Linked DNA regions of Homo sapiens: all the other regions are linked to region 3. The links are contacts of gene promoters, found by promoter capture Hi-C in blood cells and fetal thymus (Javierre and others, 2016). All regions are on one chromosome and are shown on one strand. Each heading gives the region's core, a stretch centred on a gene start or on the middle of the fragment in contact. The rest is flanking DNA. Distances are from core to core; before and after follow the strand shown. Region 1 overlaps CARD9 (caspase recruitment domain family member 9). Region 2 overlaps CCDC187 (coiled-coil domain containing 187). Region 3 holds the start of UBAC1 (UBA domain containing 1). Region 4 overlaps QSOX2 (quiescin sulfhydryl oxidase 2).

Region 1 (3,626 bases), core at 772-3,271, 400 kb before region 3:
CCCAGCCTCGGCTGCAGGGGTGGTCAAGCCGTCGTGTTTGCACATTCGCTCCTGCGTCTCAGTGTCCGCAGTGAGGACAGGGGTGGTAAAGAGTGCTGCGGTCACGAAGGACGCTTAGCTATGGACAGTCAGGGTCTCCATATCAAGCCGCGTCCAAAATTTATCAAATGTGCACGTGTGGGGGTACATAGCACACGCTGTGTCCACCGGGGGTGCAGGCTTGGGAGGAGACAGAAGGGCAGCAGGGACAACTGTCACATTTACAATCCCCCACGTGCTGACTTCGTGTCCGCAGAGCACACAAATGGAGGGGCTGTGACCAGCCTCCGCGCCCAGCGGCTTGACGTCCTCCGGAGCCTCTGCTTGGAGTTGGGCGGCCGGGCCGAGGGCCCAGGGCAAGCTTGGGGCCCTCACTGAGGGTCGGCCTTGTGCTGTCCCGTCAGGCCATAGCCACGCGGGAGGAGCTGCACGCACAGCACGCCCGGGGCCTGCAGGAGAAGGACGCGCTGCGCAAGCAGGTGCGGGAGCTGGGCGAGAAGGCGGATGAGCTGCAGCTGCAGGTGTTCCAGTGTGAGGCGCAGCTACTGGCCGTGGAGGGCAGGCTCAGGCGGCAGCAGCTGGAGACGCTCGTCCTGGTGGGCCTGGGGCCTGCGGCAGGGAGGGGAGCCGGCGCGTGGGATGCAGGGCCAGGGGAGCACGGAGCCTCAGCCCCGGCCTTCCCGACCCAACCCTTCTCTGTGACGGGCCCCAACCTAACCAAACCCCTCCTGGCAGTGGGGTGAGGGCACACGAGCAGTTCAGGGTCCCAGCAGGAAGTGGGGCTGCAGGGCCGGGGTGGGTCCTGGGCCTGGCCATCAGGCAGCCTAGCAGGTTGTTCTGGGCATGGAGGGGGCCTGGTGTGGCTGAGGGCATGCCCAGGGCTCCCTGGAGGATCCCGCTCTGTGCCCTGCCCACCCTGTGCCTGGGGAGCCCTCTGCCCTCACAGCCCACCCACCCCATTTTCTATGACCACAGAGCTCCGACCTGGAAGATGGCTCACCCAGGAGGTCCCAGGAGGTGAGTGAGACCCCAGCCAGCACGAGGCTGGCCTTCCTTCACCTGGGGTCCTGGCTGAGCTGCCACCAGGCATAGCCCCACACTGCCCGTCACATGGCCCTGCTCGGTGGGCTGGGCTGGGTGGAGGAAGAGCAGGTGGCCAAATGCTAAGGCCTCTGATGGCTCAAGGGGTAAGGTAAGGCACGGACAGTGCCCACCTCCTGGCCGCCCAATGTCCGTCTGCTGGGCACCTGAGTCTCTGAGAAGCTCTGTGCAGGGGGTGACGGCAATGGCTGCACCCAGCTGAGGGCCAAGGGCTGGGGTGGGCAGTGTGGCCGGGTCCAGTCCTTGGCGAAGTGGCCTAATGGGACATCTTGACTCTCTTTGGAAGCTCTCACTCCCCCAGGACCTGGAGGACACCCAGCTCTCAGACAAAGGTGAGGTGGGGACAGCAGTACACCCAGAGGCCTCCCAGCTTCCCCAAGTGAGGCCCATCTTCAGCACAGGCAGCCCGTGCCGCAATGCCTGTGTCAACCCCCACAACCCCCACTCCACAGACAGGGAAACTGGGGCTGGGGATAAGTAAAATGGTCAAGGTCACCTAGAGAACAAACTACAGAGCCCAGCTGGAACCCAGGGCCCCAGCTAGTGGGACAAGTGTCCCCTGGGGTGGAGAGTGTGGGGGTCTGGGCAGCCCCCATGGGCTGCAGAGGTGAGCAGGCCCACCGTCCTGAGAGTGTGGGGCCCCTCTGGGCAGCCCCCACGGGGTGCAGAGGTGAGCAGGCCCAGTCCTGGCTGCTCCAAGCTTCCTCCTGGACAGAGGGAGGTGGTAACGAGCGAACGACCAGGTGCATGAAGCTAGAAGATGGGGCGAGATGGGGCCCCACGTGGCTTGAGGGAAAGGGCTGAATGCAGGGGTGGCCAAGGGCCTGCTGTGTCCCGGTGCAGTGGGGGTAAGGCAGTGGCAGGGGCTTCTAGCGGGCAGGGCAGGCCCCCTCTGCCTGTCTGGGGGAAGGACTGGGTGGCTAGCTGGGAGCAGCTCCCGAGTGTCCAGGAGTGGGCAGTGGTGATGAGGTAGGTGTTTGCACTGAAGGTGCTGTCAGGTAGGGGTTGGGGAGGGCCCAGCAGAGGGGTCCTGGGAGGCTGCACCGGAGTTGGACAAGCTTCCTGAGTACCAGGCCGTGGCCTCCAAGCAGAGGCGGAAGGGGAAGGAGGAGCCGCAGACGGGGAAGTGAAGACCAGCGCCTTTGGCTGCAGCTCAGAACACTTGAACATGGGGATGCCAAGCCCCCATGTAGGCACAGAGGCGAGCAGGACCCAGGAGTCCGGCTCAGGCACTGCCCCCATCCCCCTGGGTGGCTGTGGCAGGAGCAGGGGCAGGTGTGAAGGTTGGAGGGTGAGCAGGGGAGGGGCTGGCTCTAAGGGGCTGCCAATGGCCAGGACAGCCCTGGCCTGGCCCTCACCGCAGTGGGGCTGAGACTGGACGTGCGTGGTTTCTGCCCAAGGGTCCTGATCCCTGGTCTGCCCAGGTCCTGGCGGTTTCTGAGGGGGTCCAGCCGCCTGAAGGTTCTCTCCCAATTGCTGCAGTACCCCTGCCCCCACTTCAGGAGGACCCAGACAGCCACTGTAGCTGTCCCCAACTCTCTCCCCAGGGCCGCCATGCCCACAGATGCTTTGGAGTGATGGGGGACGGTGCTGCTCAGGCCCAGGGTTTAAGTTCCCCCGAGGTCTGGGAGGCGTTCCTCCCTGGCAGGCAGCCAGCTCGGGGGAGGGATGGTCACTGGCGGGAGCGTTGGGCCTGGGCTGGCATCTGGCGGCCTCCTGGAGCAATGAACAGGCAAGCGAGGCCATAAGGCCTCAGTCTCATCTACAGAAAGCAGAGTCTACACTGGACCCATGTGGGGATCCCACCAGGCCTTGGAAGACAGCCCCACTGCAATGCCGGGGAGGGGTGGGGCAGCCGTGCTATACGTGGCCCAGCAGATGGGCAGGTCCCACAGGCACGACTCTCCTTTCCAGGCTGCCTTGCCGGCGGGGGGAGCCCGAAACAGCCCTTTGCAGCTCTGCACCAGGAGCAGGTTTTGCGGAACCCCCATGTAAGGCTTCCCCGGGGTGGGGTCCTCCCAGCCGTGGGCCTCAGGGTGACCGATCACAGGGAGAGTGGCTCCCTGCCCTGGGCACCCCCTGCGGTGGCCCCGACGACAGCTGAGGAGTGACCACAAGGTCTCTGCCCACAGTGCTCGGGGTGCGGTGTCTGGGCTGCGAAGTGGATCCCCCTTTCTTGGGCACTGCAGCAGCTTGGGGGGCTTTTTGGACGTGGATGTGCCTGGTCCTGGTTTTCCGAGGGCCTTTACAGTGGATGAGGAGGTGAACACAGGAGTCCTGAGAGCAAGCACCACCTCGGGCTTTGTTGTAGAAACAATGGCCCGGACCCCAGGCTGGAGCCGTGGCTTGGCCTCCTGGGTGTGTCTTGGCATCTGAAATGCAGGCTACCCACACCGGCTCACCTCCAGGGGTACAGGCAGGTCCCACAGGGAGAGCTTGGCGCTGAGCTGAGGCTGTCTGGGCTCCTCGCCTCCCAACCAGTCTGC
Region 2 (3,357 bases), core at 245-2,744, 300 kb before region 3:
CTCCCGAGTAGCTGGGACTACAGGTGTGCGCCACCACGCCCAGCTAATTTTGTATTTTTAGTAGAGATGGGGTTTCTCCATGTTGGTCAGGCTGGTCTCGAACTCCCTACCTCAGTTGATCCGCCAGCCACGGCCTCTCAAAGTGCTGGGATTACAGGCGAGAGCCACCACGCCCAGTGCGGATACTCTGTTTTGGGGAGAAACACACATGGCTATTTCAACTTGCAAATGGGCAGTACGTGCTGTTTTGTAACTTGCGTTTTCAATTTATATGTCAGGAAAACCTTTCTGTGTAGCTACATAACCGCTATAACACACAGGGCGCACCGGCGTAGAGACAGGGCTGTAACTCCCTTCGCTTGTCCCGGATCTCCGGGCCTCTAGGTTGTCTCCAACGTTTTGCCATTATTAATGAAGATAGAGAGATCATTTCCTTAAGGTAAAACCTTAGAAATGGAATGACCGGGTCAGTGAGAATGCATCTGGAAGCCGCTTGATACTGCCACATTGGTCTCCAGAAAGGTGATTCCAGTTAACATCCTCACCCGGTGTCTGAGCGGGCCAGACTGAGGGTGTTTATTCCATGATGGGTGGGGGGTGGATGTGGGTGACCCCCACCTCCCTCCCCAGAGGACCCACTGGCCTGGGCTGGGCCTTCAGGGTGGCAGGGGCGGCTCTCGGCTAGCCTTTGTCTCTTTAGACCCAAAAGTCCAAAAGTGGCTGTGAGGGGTGGAAGAGTGACAGCCCGGGTTGGGCCATCTGGCCACCCCAAGGCTTCCAAGCCTGTCCACGCATGGCTGCGTCCTCCCTGGTGCCTGCACCTTGGGAGGGCATTCCAGGTTGATGTGGCCGACCAGGGCTGGCTGTGTCTGTGACTTTCTATATCCACTTGCACGGGCTGTCAACATTGGCAGTGATGTTGCCACCTCCCCCCAGGTGCCTGGACAGCAAGAGGGACAGAGCTGTGCTGGCCGCGCTGGTTGAGAAGCAGCAGCAAGCCCTCAGCAGATTGGAGAAGGAGCAGGTGGGGCCAGCACAGGCCTGGTGGGTCAGGGTGGGCGGCTCACAGAGGCAGTCGTGTCATCTTCTTGCCTGGAATCTGAACATTCCCCAGCAACAGAGCTAAAGAATTCCCAAGCCCTTGCCACCCTCCAGGGCCATACAGGACCCCGAAGTATAGAAGGAGTGTCCACGGCCCAAGAGGGCATCACGGCCAGGGTGGAGCGTGGTCCTGTACACAAGGAGTGTCTGCGGCCTTCTGGGGGCCTCGTGGCCAGAGTGGAGGGTGGCCCTGTGGCCCTGGCTCCAGACCAGGCTCAGCCTTTTGCTGGATGTCACCTTGAGCAAGTGGCTTTGTCTCTTGGAGCCTCAGTTTCCTCCTTGGAACCAGAGAATAATTGTGGTCTCTGTAAAGCAGGGGGTTGGGAGAGTTTAGTGCAGCCAGCACTTACCCGGGTGGACGTGTGCCATGTACGCCCTCAGAGGACTTTCCCAGCTGCTCCGAGCCCAGTTCCCTCATCTGAAAAATGGGGAGAAGCCTGATGTGCACATGCATGGGGGCTGGGAGGGTGGTGCAGGTGAATCCCTAGCCGCGCCTGGCAGGGAGGGGTCTCCATCCGTGGCTGCACCTGCCTTCCTGCCATCGTTGTCACCAGGGACTGGAGGAAGCAGACCCCCAGGGAAAGTCGGTGCTGGGGGCACATGTGGAGGGGGGAAAAGCTGCCAGAGTCAGGGCTTTGCCTGCGGCAGAGAGCAAGGCTGAGGGGCAAGCCTGAGAGCCAGGACGAGGACCCTTGCCGGCCCCTGCCCAGGTCACAGGCTCAAGGGCTCCTCACAGGTCGCGGCCGCTGTGCCTGCATCCTCACTTCAGTGCCCCCATGCTGTGGGGCAGAGGCTGGCGCTAACACCCTTGGTACAGATAAAAGAACCTGGCTGGGTGAGGCAGTTCATCCGTAATTCCAGCACTTTGGGAGGCCAAGGTGGGAGGATCGCTTGAGCCCAGGAATGTGAGACAGGCCTGGGCAACATAGCAAGACCCCGTCTCTACAAAAAATAAATCTGCCACTATAGGTGGCCAATGCCTATAGTCCCAGCTATTTGGTGGACTGAGATGGGAGGATTGCTTGAGCTTGGGAGGTCAAGGCTGCAGTGAGCTGAGCTTGCACCACTGCACTCCAGCCTGGGCAACAGAGTGAGACCTTGTTTCAAAAAAAAAAAAGGTGAGCTGGGGTGGGGGACTACTTTGCCCACGACCCTCTGCTGGGAAATGGGGTCAGTGCAGGACCTTATGTTGACTGGAAAGCCCCGGGATCCCCATCCCTGCCCTGGATGCCCTGTACATACTACGACCTGGGGTGTCAGGCATGGGGCATTACAGGCAAGGGAGCTGGGGGCGGAGACCCAGGCCACAGACCCATGCACAGGTCCTCTCAGATACGGAGAAACAGGAAAAGGCAGGCACCACAGAGAACAACGTGAGCCGGGGAAACAAAAGGGGCTTAGAAGGGGTCTGCATGTCACATGGCAACGACGGGGCCTGGCAGAACAGGCGCTGCCCAGGGATCCCAGGCGGGAGGAGCTGGAGCTGGCCGGGGCCAGGGACTCCCAGCCACAGCCAGGCTGCGTGTCGCAGATAGAGATGCCGTGGTGGAGGTGGGGTCTGGGACTCCCCAGTGGGGCCATGGACCAGACACCCGCTTGGCAGAGCCTCGCTTTCCCGTCTCACCAGTGAAGCTGCTGTCTCCCAGGGCGAGTGTGCAACGGCCCGGCCCGGCCCTGGGCTCTGTGCAAGGTTGTTCCGAGGGTGCGTCCACCAGGGACGCTGTGGGGAACAGAAAGAACAGTTGTAAAGGAGTGACGGGGTGGGGGCAGTGCCTGGAGCCTGCAGAGAGGGAGGGCGAGGCCCAGCCAGCCTGTGCCAGCCCTGCGTGGGCCCTGGGGAAAGAGTACCTGCCTCCCTCCTGCCGCCCGCAGCTGCCTCCTCCACCAAGCCCAGGGAAGCCCAAGGCCATGGGGGTATCCTAGGCCCGGCAGGAGGGGCGGGCAAAGGCCAATTGGAGGGAAAGGGAGGCCTCCCAGTGTGAGGGCCAGGGCATCCCCCCAGACACCCCTTCCCTTTTGTTGGCCTTTTCCCCTGCTGGCTCCGGGGTTATGCTGACATCTGCTTATTTTGCCTGCTCAGAGGGAAATCCAATACCTGAGACACACGCAGCTGTTCAGGCACCGGGACAGGAAGCTGCTTCTGCAGCATCAGAGGGACGTCGTCTCCATGCCGGGGCCTGTGGACATCCTCCCCATCCCGGGGCCCACGGACGTCGTCCCAGCGCACGAGCTGCAGGCCCAGGCCAAGCTGCAGCA
Region 3 (3,397 bases), core at 585-3,084:
ACTTCAAAAGGTGGCACTGCCCTGCACTCTGCCACCCACACTGGAAGTCTTCAAGTCATCCTTGATTTCACTCTTGGGCCCACACCCTCCAATCCTGCTGGCCTCCCCTCCCACAGGCCACTGGAAGCCCCCTTCTCCTCTTCCTCTCCCTCCGCATTGCTCCCCCGCAAGGATGCCCTGCCCTCTTCCCTGTCCCCTCCACAGTCACCACCATTCATTCTGCCACCTGGTCACACCGTTAGTGGCTCTCACAGCAACGTCTTAATGCTCTGACCCGGCTCCTCCAAGCCCTCTAGCTTCCCCCACTCTCCACTCACCACCTTGGTGTTCCTCCCCTTTCTCCTCCACCAGCTTCCACGATACTACCACCACCTCCACTGCGGTCTCTAACAGTCGGTACTTCTGCTTCCTGCGTTAAAAATGCCCCATTCCAGGACTGTATCCTGGTGTCTGGTCTTAATCACTACCATATTTTCATTGAGTAGCAGAGGCTCCCACCTGTGAGAGGCAATTAGTAAGTGCTGAACTGGACACATGGAATCTGGACGAGGTTGGAATTATCACAGGAGAAAAATGAGGATGTGTGTGCAAAATGGTGTGGACAGAATAAAAGCCTGCAGGCAGGAGGCAGAGACAGCCTCCCCGGTTAGATTGCTAACCTCTGAGAACGGGAACTGTGCCTTATTCATCTCTGCGCAGTAAAGTTTTTTTAAATGAATGGGATGAATGAGTACAGATCAGTCAATGTGTCAGGTCTAACCTGAACTACAAAATTCATATTTAGGAGCATGGTAAGTAAGACGTTATCCAGGACTGTTGAGCTAGGTACAGAGACCACTGCCAAGGGGGCTTGCAGTGGGGAGAGAGGTCAGGCTCAACTCCCAATACAGCAAGGGCAAGTGGGTGGGGTCAGTGAATGGAAAATTAATAGGAGAAAACATCAGGGATGTGGGCGGTTCTGGCTAAACCGACCTGACAGGGTTCTTGCTGAAGAGAGGCTGGAGATATCAGACAGCACCTGGGGGACGAGGAACCTGACCAGACGTCCAGGGTGATCTGATATTGAGGCTGGGAGTTCTTGCTAAACTCACTTATCAAGGCTCTTCGCTAAAACTGGATTTTACAAGGAAGTGTACAGATGATGTAGAAGGTTCAGGAGCCTGCTTAAGTTTGGCCAAGCAAAGACTCTTTGTCACACCCCACAGAAAATGAGTCTGCCTGGCATCACCTGCACCAAGGGCGGCTTCCCTCCCCTCTGGGTGCCCCGCAAACCTAGGCTTCGCAGGAACAGTGACTCTCTGATCTGCGTGTGAATTAGAAAGACCTAGGCTTGTTAAAGCCAAGTTCTTTGGAGAGCCTCCGTTCTACAGCAGTGCAGTGCAAAAGAAATATCACAGCAGCCATGTAGGCAATTTAAAATTCTATCTTAAAAAGGTTAAAAGAAACAGGTGAAATTAATTTTAATGACATATTTTTCTTAACTCAATAGATACAAAATATTATTTCAACATGTAATCAATATGAAAACATTATCGAGATGCCTTACATTCCTTTTTCCCGTTACTTCTTTGGGATCCAGCGTGTATTTTACCTTTAGAACCCATGAGGTCCCACGTGGTGAGTGCCCCGGGTGGGAACCGCCTGCAGCTCGGGGAGGAACGAAGCTACCAGAGAACTACAGCTCCCGGCATGCTCCGGGCGCGCCCCGTGACGCACTTCCTTTGCGGTGGCCACAGCGCGCCCCCGGCGGCGGGAGCGAGGCGCCTGTCCGAGAACCACATCTCCCGGCATGCGCCAGACGCGCCCGTGACGCACTTCCGGTGCGGCCGCGACGGCGCGCCCCCGGCGGCTGCTGCGGCGGCGGGAGCGAGGCGACCGCTGAGGCCGCGGAGAGTGACGGCGGCCCGGCCGACGGGAGCCGGGGCGGGGCGGCGGCCCAGCGAAGGAGCGCGCGGGCGGTCTGGCCCCGCCCCCTCCCCGCCCGCCTTCCCGGTGACCTTCAGGGGCCCGGGTGGCGGGCGCAGGCCCCTGCGGCGGCGGCGGGATGTTCGTGCAGGAGGAGAAGATCTTCGCGGGCAAGGTGCTGCGGCTGCACATCTGCGCGTCCGACGGCGCCGAGTGGCTGGAGGAGGCCACCGAGGACACCTCGGTGGAGAAGCTCAAGGAGCGCTGCCTCAAGCACGTAAGGCCGGGCCCCCTCCCCTGCCCCCAACACCCGCTCCGGACCCCTCCGACTGCGGACCCCGCCTCAGTCCCCGAACCGCCCCGACCTGGGGTCCGCCGCCCAGTCCGCAGCTCCCAGGCCCTCTCCTCCGGGGGTGGAGGCAGCGCCTCCTGCCCGTTTGCCCGACTCTCCCCCTTTCGGATCCCACACCTCTGGACGCTCGTCCCGGGCCTGGCCTTTCGGCCGGCGGACTCCGGTCACTAAGCGCTCGCCCCGTGCCAGCCGCCCGGCCGAGCCCTGTACACGCCAGCCTCTCAGTTAACTCTGCAGCCACGCAGGGAGGTAGGGGCAGATCGGGAAACTGAGGCCTGGAGAGTGAAGTCGCCGACGGAGCAGGGCCTCGGGACTTTCCGGCAGTTGTACCTTTTTGCTGTTGGGGTGAGGTTTTTTTTCAGCAGCATCTTTGAGAGCTGAGAATTAACGTAGGCTCCTTCATGAAGAGGCCCCTTCTCCTTCCTCTTCCCCTTTCCCGCAGAGCCGGCTGCTTGGAGCTCTTTTCCTGGCTGGCCCCAGGCCACTGTGCCTTTTAGCTGGAGTCCCTGAAATAGTGCCGCTGCGGGACAAGGCCCTGCGCCCCTGCTTTTCTGCAGAGGTAAAATTGGTCAAGAGAGAAGTCCCAGGAGTAGGGTCTCCTCGCGGAGACACTTTTTAAAGTTTATTCACCTGAAATACTCCTGTGTATTTAGTTCCTTAGGTTGCTGATTTTTGGAACTAGTTCTCGAGTCTCTAAAGGACTCAGTAAGGTCAGCTAAGAAGCCTGTCTGTGTGTCAGACTGACCTCCTGTCTATACCTGACATGATCTGAGGGCTTGGCAGAATTTAGGTTGAAGGAGGCTGCAATTTTCTAGTGGCGACTCCATGTGATAAGTTACGACGTATCTGTGTTGACAGGTTGAGTGCGTTACACTTGAGCTGAGTGTGGTCTCTAAGGATAAACTTCAGTTCTTACCATAGTAGCTGCTCGCATACAGTACTTTCGAGTTGCTTTTGTGAGCATGGTTCTGTGGAGTTCTGGAACTGTCAGAGGCAAGCTTGGCAAGCCCCCTTCTGGAACGCACTGGCTGTGAATAACTGGGAGGTGCTGGCCTCAGGATTCACACCAAGGAGGGGGCTGAGCCTCCTGCGTTCAAGGGCCGGTATGTTTTGGCTGCTTTCTTGCTTTTCTTCTGCCCC
Region 4 (3,389 bases), core at 435-2,934, 280 kb before region 3:
GTAAGGTATAGGAAGGGGTAGGTTTACAGATCATAGGTGGATTCTGACTGGCAATTGATTGAAAGAGTTAAGCTTTGTCTAAAGACTTGAAGTCAGCAAAGAGAAATGCTTGAGTTAAGCTAAAGGGGCTGTGGAGGCCAAGGTTAAGTAGATGAAGCCTCACAGGCAGCAGCCTTGGGGAGAATAGAGGGTAAATGTCTCTTTTCAGACCTGAATGCTGTCAGACTCGTTAAATGTCTCCTAGATCCAGGAAAGACCTAGAAAGGGAGGGAGATTCTCTACAGATGCAAATTTCCCTCACAAAAGACAGCTTTGCAGGACCATTTCAAATATGTCAGGGAAATAAATGTATTTGGGGGTGAAATATTTTGATTTCCTGCAGGGTGTGCTATTTGTCATGTGGTGCTGTACCCGAGTCAGGCTGGAGTTTGGTGTCGTTGCTGCTGAGGCTGTGCTGTCTGTCTGTGATCTCTGTTTCATCACGCTGGTCAGCTCTGCCTAAACTCCAAAGGGAGGTGATGTAACCAGGCGTGTCTGACCTCCCTTGCCGTCAGGGCCTGGAATTTCTTTCCTCAGGTTGCCCTGGGGTCTCCTTGGCCAAGAGGGGGTTCAATTCAGTCAGTTAGGGGACTCAGGATTTTATTTTTGGTTTACAGTCCTGAGAGCCAAGCTGTGCCCATGAGGCTTGTGGGAGGTAGAGTCCGGGTAGAAAGGGATGAAAGGCCCTTGGCACTGAGGAGTCCCCGGAGCTGTTCTAAGGCTGGGACTCTCAAAGTAGGGCCACTTAGGGCCTTGTTAGAAATGCCTGCTTCTCCACAGCCCCAGCCCAGACCTGCCAGCTCAGAACTGTCTGCTTGGCGCCTGGCTCCCTGTCTGTCATCCCTGCGTGGAGCTGTCCCACAGGGATAGGGCGCCCATTGCCCGTGGCAGTGCAGGGGTCTGGCTGCATGCAGGCATTCCCGTTGTCAACATTCTCATGTTTTCTTATGTCCCTGTTGACCTGACTCAGATCAGTCACCTGTGGCCCTGATCAATCACCTGTGACTTAGGTCATCCTGCTGATCCCCTGGGGGCACACAGGCCATGGCTTGGGCCCCCACTTCTACCTAGAGTGTCCAGCCGCCTTCTCCCACTGGTCCCCCTGGCCAGCGCCCGCCACGCCCTGCGTTCTTCATGCCTGTGGCTGCTGGAGAGGATGGTTAGGTGTGGGCTCTGCTTCCCAGGAGCCTCCAGCTGGAAGGAGCAGGACAGGCCAGGGCACCTTTGTTTTCCTCAGAAATTTGGATTGAACTTTAGCTCTTGACTGGCTTTTTCAAGGCTGGGAAAATAAATGTTTTTTCTTATAAGAAGGTGGCTTAAGAAACAAAAGTTGTACTGTTTGGTGTGACCAAGTGTCATTCTAGTGTTTGTGGAGATTTGGCTTAAGCCTGTCACTTCTAAGTACTTTGCAGAACAAAACCTTGTTGGGTTCCTGAAGATCTGCCTGGCAGTGATGGTTGCTGGGTTTGTGATGGAAGATGAGGCACCAGGGCCTGGGGCTACACTTTGGCCCGTCTGACCGGTGAGATCTCCGAAATGCCTCTGCAGTCTTGAGTGGACAAGAGGGTGCACCCTAAAGGCAGGGCCTGTGTCCCCGTGCGCCCTCTGTGGCCCTGGTGCCTGTTCCCTCCCATCTCCTTCACTTGGTCAGCCTGAGAAAACAGGGCAGGCCACCACCCACAACAGGCTGAGTCCTCCTAGACCTGCCCTCAGGAGGGCGGGAACGCTTATGTTGTAGATGATAGCACATGAGGTTGCGTGGAACAGGCCGAGTCCTCCCACACCTGTCCTCAGGAGTGCGGGGGCGCTCATGTTGCAGGTGATAGCACGTGAGGTTGCGTGGGATAGTCACGGTCACGCAGCTGAGTGACAGGCCGGGATGGGTGTCCAGGTGTGGGTGACCTGGAGCCATGGCAGTTCATTCCTGTGTCTTTGTAGAGGACAGGTGGGGGTTGGGAGCTGGACACATCCGACATCTCTTGAAGGAAGGGTAGGGCATTCTGTGATTGCTGCCAGCTCCTCTGTCCCACTTGGTCTGGTTTCTTGTCTACTCGACTAGGCTGCAGGCTTCTTGGAGATGAATTAGAACTTGGTGTTCCCCACAGGCTCATTGTCCGTTTACTGGAAAAAGAAACAATAAGGGCCAGAGGGAGGGGGACATGCAGGTGTCAGCGGGCATTTGGCGGGGCTGACGGCCCGTGAGAGCTGCCAGGTGCTCACTGGACTCGGGAGGATGGAGAGGGTGGAAGGAGGAAGAGTTGGGCAGTGGAGGCCTCCTGTCTCCTTACGGGCCCAGAAATGGCTTAATGTAGCCCCGCTGTGGCGACCACATGAGTATTTTACAGAAAGGATGGTGCATCGGAGCAGCCGGGCTCCCCGCTGGCCTCCCCAGTGGCTGTGGTTGGTGCGTCTGAGACTACACCGAGAGACCCAGGCCACTTACTTGTTGTTGAAGTAAGACGGGATGGTTTGCTAAGAGGGCCTTACAGCCACGTCCAGGGAGCCGTCTCCGCTGTGTCATGCCGGTCGTCGTGCCATGGGGTGACCCAGGTCATAAGCACTGCTTGGGCTTCCCTGACAGAGGACGGGCTGAGGGACTGTCATTCCCTACCAACAGATAAACAGCATTGGAATTGCTGTCACCTCGGAGCACCCTTCGAGGCTGAAGAACGTGTAGTTTTGGTTTACCAGAATTGAGTTAAATGCTGGGGATCAAGAGTCCATGGGACCCAGCCCTGCCCTCAGTCCCCAGATGAGGCGACCGTAGCGTGTGCCCGGGTTTTCTCAGACCAGCCCTTGGCAACTTCTAGGTGATTTGTGTTAGGCTCTCCTGGTCGCTAGGTGGGTTTCATTTCTACCCAGGCCTGTTATTCCAAACTTGTGCCTTGAACTTGGAGCTTAGCTAAGAAGACCTTTGCTCAGCCAAGAGGGGGCTCCACCCAGAGAGGGTCTTCTCCAGGGACTGGTATGCGGAGTTCGAGACCCCAGCATGGCCCTGACTCAGGAAGGAGAGGCTGCAGTGGACCTCTGTCCCTTAAACACAGCTCCCTAGTTGCCTTTCAACTTGGGAGATTGTTTTATCTTTACTGTAATCATTTTCTAGAACGATTTGATACTGGACTATACATTAGACTTCTGTAGACTTTTTCATTAGAACGTGACAAGCAGTAAAGAGTTAACCTTGTTAGATTCAGTATTAGAGTTATTTGACAAGCACATTTGAAATAAATGTTAATCTACTATATATAGAAGCTTAATTATTTCCCAAGTATTTTTAAGACTGGAGTCCTAAAATAGCCAGGCTCTTGAGCAGAAGTGAGAATAGGCCTGCGGTCTCATTTCTGCCTCCC

The links. Contacts are between HindIII fragments. The CHiCAGO score rates a contact against its expected background, and 5 or more counts as called.
Region 1: a fragment that was not itself captured here is called in contact with the fragment with the promoter of UBAC1 in region 3 in 4 of 17 cell types (naive B cells, total CD8 T cells, total B cells and 1 more); the score reaches 7.2 in naive B cells.
Region 2: a contact is called between a fragment that was not itself captured here and the fragment with the promoter of UBAC1 in region 3, in 9 of 17 cell types (naive CD4 T cells, total CD8 T cells, total B cells and 6 more). The highest score is 7.3, in naive CD4 T cells.
Region 4: a fragment that was not itself captured here is called in contact with the fragment with the promoter of UBAC1 in region 3 in 17 of 17 cell types (total CD8 T cells, naive CD4 T cells, naive CD8 T cells and 14 more); the score reaches 21.8 in total CD8 T cells.

Annotation. Positions count from the first base shown.
Region 1 is chr9:136,364,646-136,368,271 of GRCh38, reverse strand. It overlaps CARD9 (caspase recruitment domain family member 9), which reads left to right. Exons shown (of 13, transcript NM_052813.5): 8 at 444-635; 9 at 1,015-1,056; 10 at 1,427-1,472; 11 at 3,055-3,131. LOC124902309 (a long non-coding RNA gene) reads right to left here. Exons shown (of 2, transcript XR_007061863.1): 2 at 1-648. Among named protein-coding and RNA genes, the nearest start is that of DNLZ, 2.7 kb to the right of the region's middle. RefSeq lists enhancers at 2,171-3,060, 3,061-3,626. The HindIII fragment of the contact is 358 bases long and covers 1,843-2,200 here.
Region 2 is chr9:136,263,623-136,266,979 of GRCh38, reverse strand. It overlaps CCDC187 (coiled-coil domain containing 187), which reads left to right. Exons shown (of 26, transcript NM_001378188.1): 17 at 937-1,024; 18 at 3,182-3,357. Among named protein-coding and RNA genes, the nearest start is that of QSOX2, 19 kb to the right of the region's middle. The HindIII fragment of the contact is 7,726 bases long and covers 1-3,357 here.
Region 3 is chr9:135,959,810-135,963,206 of GRCh38, reverse strand. UBAC1 (UBA domain containing 1) reads left to right here and starts at 1,834. Exons shown (of 10, transcript NM_016172.3): 1 at 1,834-2,182. The coding sequence starts at 2,045. RefSeq lists silencers at 1,685-2,094, 2,105-2,224 and an enhancer at 1,714-2,214. The HindIII fragment of the contact is 10,703 bases long and covers 1-3,257 here.
Region 4 is chr9:136,240,147-136,243,535 of GRCh38, reverse strand. The region is part of intron 1 of QSOX2 (quiescin sulfhydryl oxidase 2); the gene reads left to right. Among named protein-coding and RNA genes, the nearest start is that of QSOX2, 4.0 kb to the left of the region's middle. The HindIII fragment of the contact is 3,219 bases long and covers 75-3,293 here.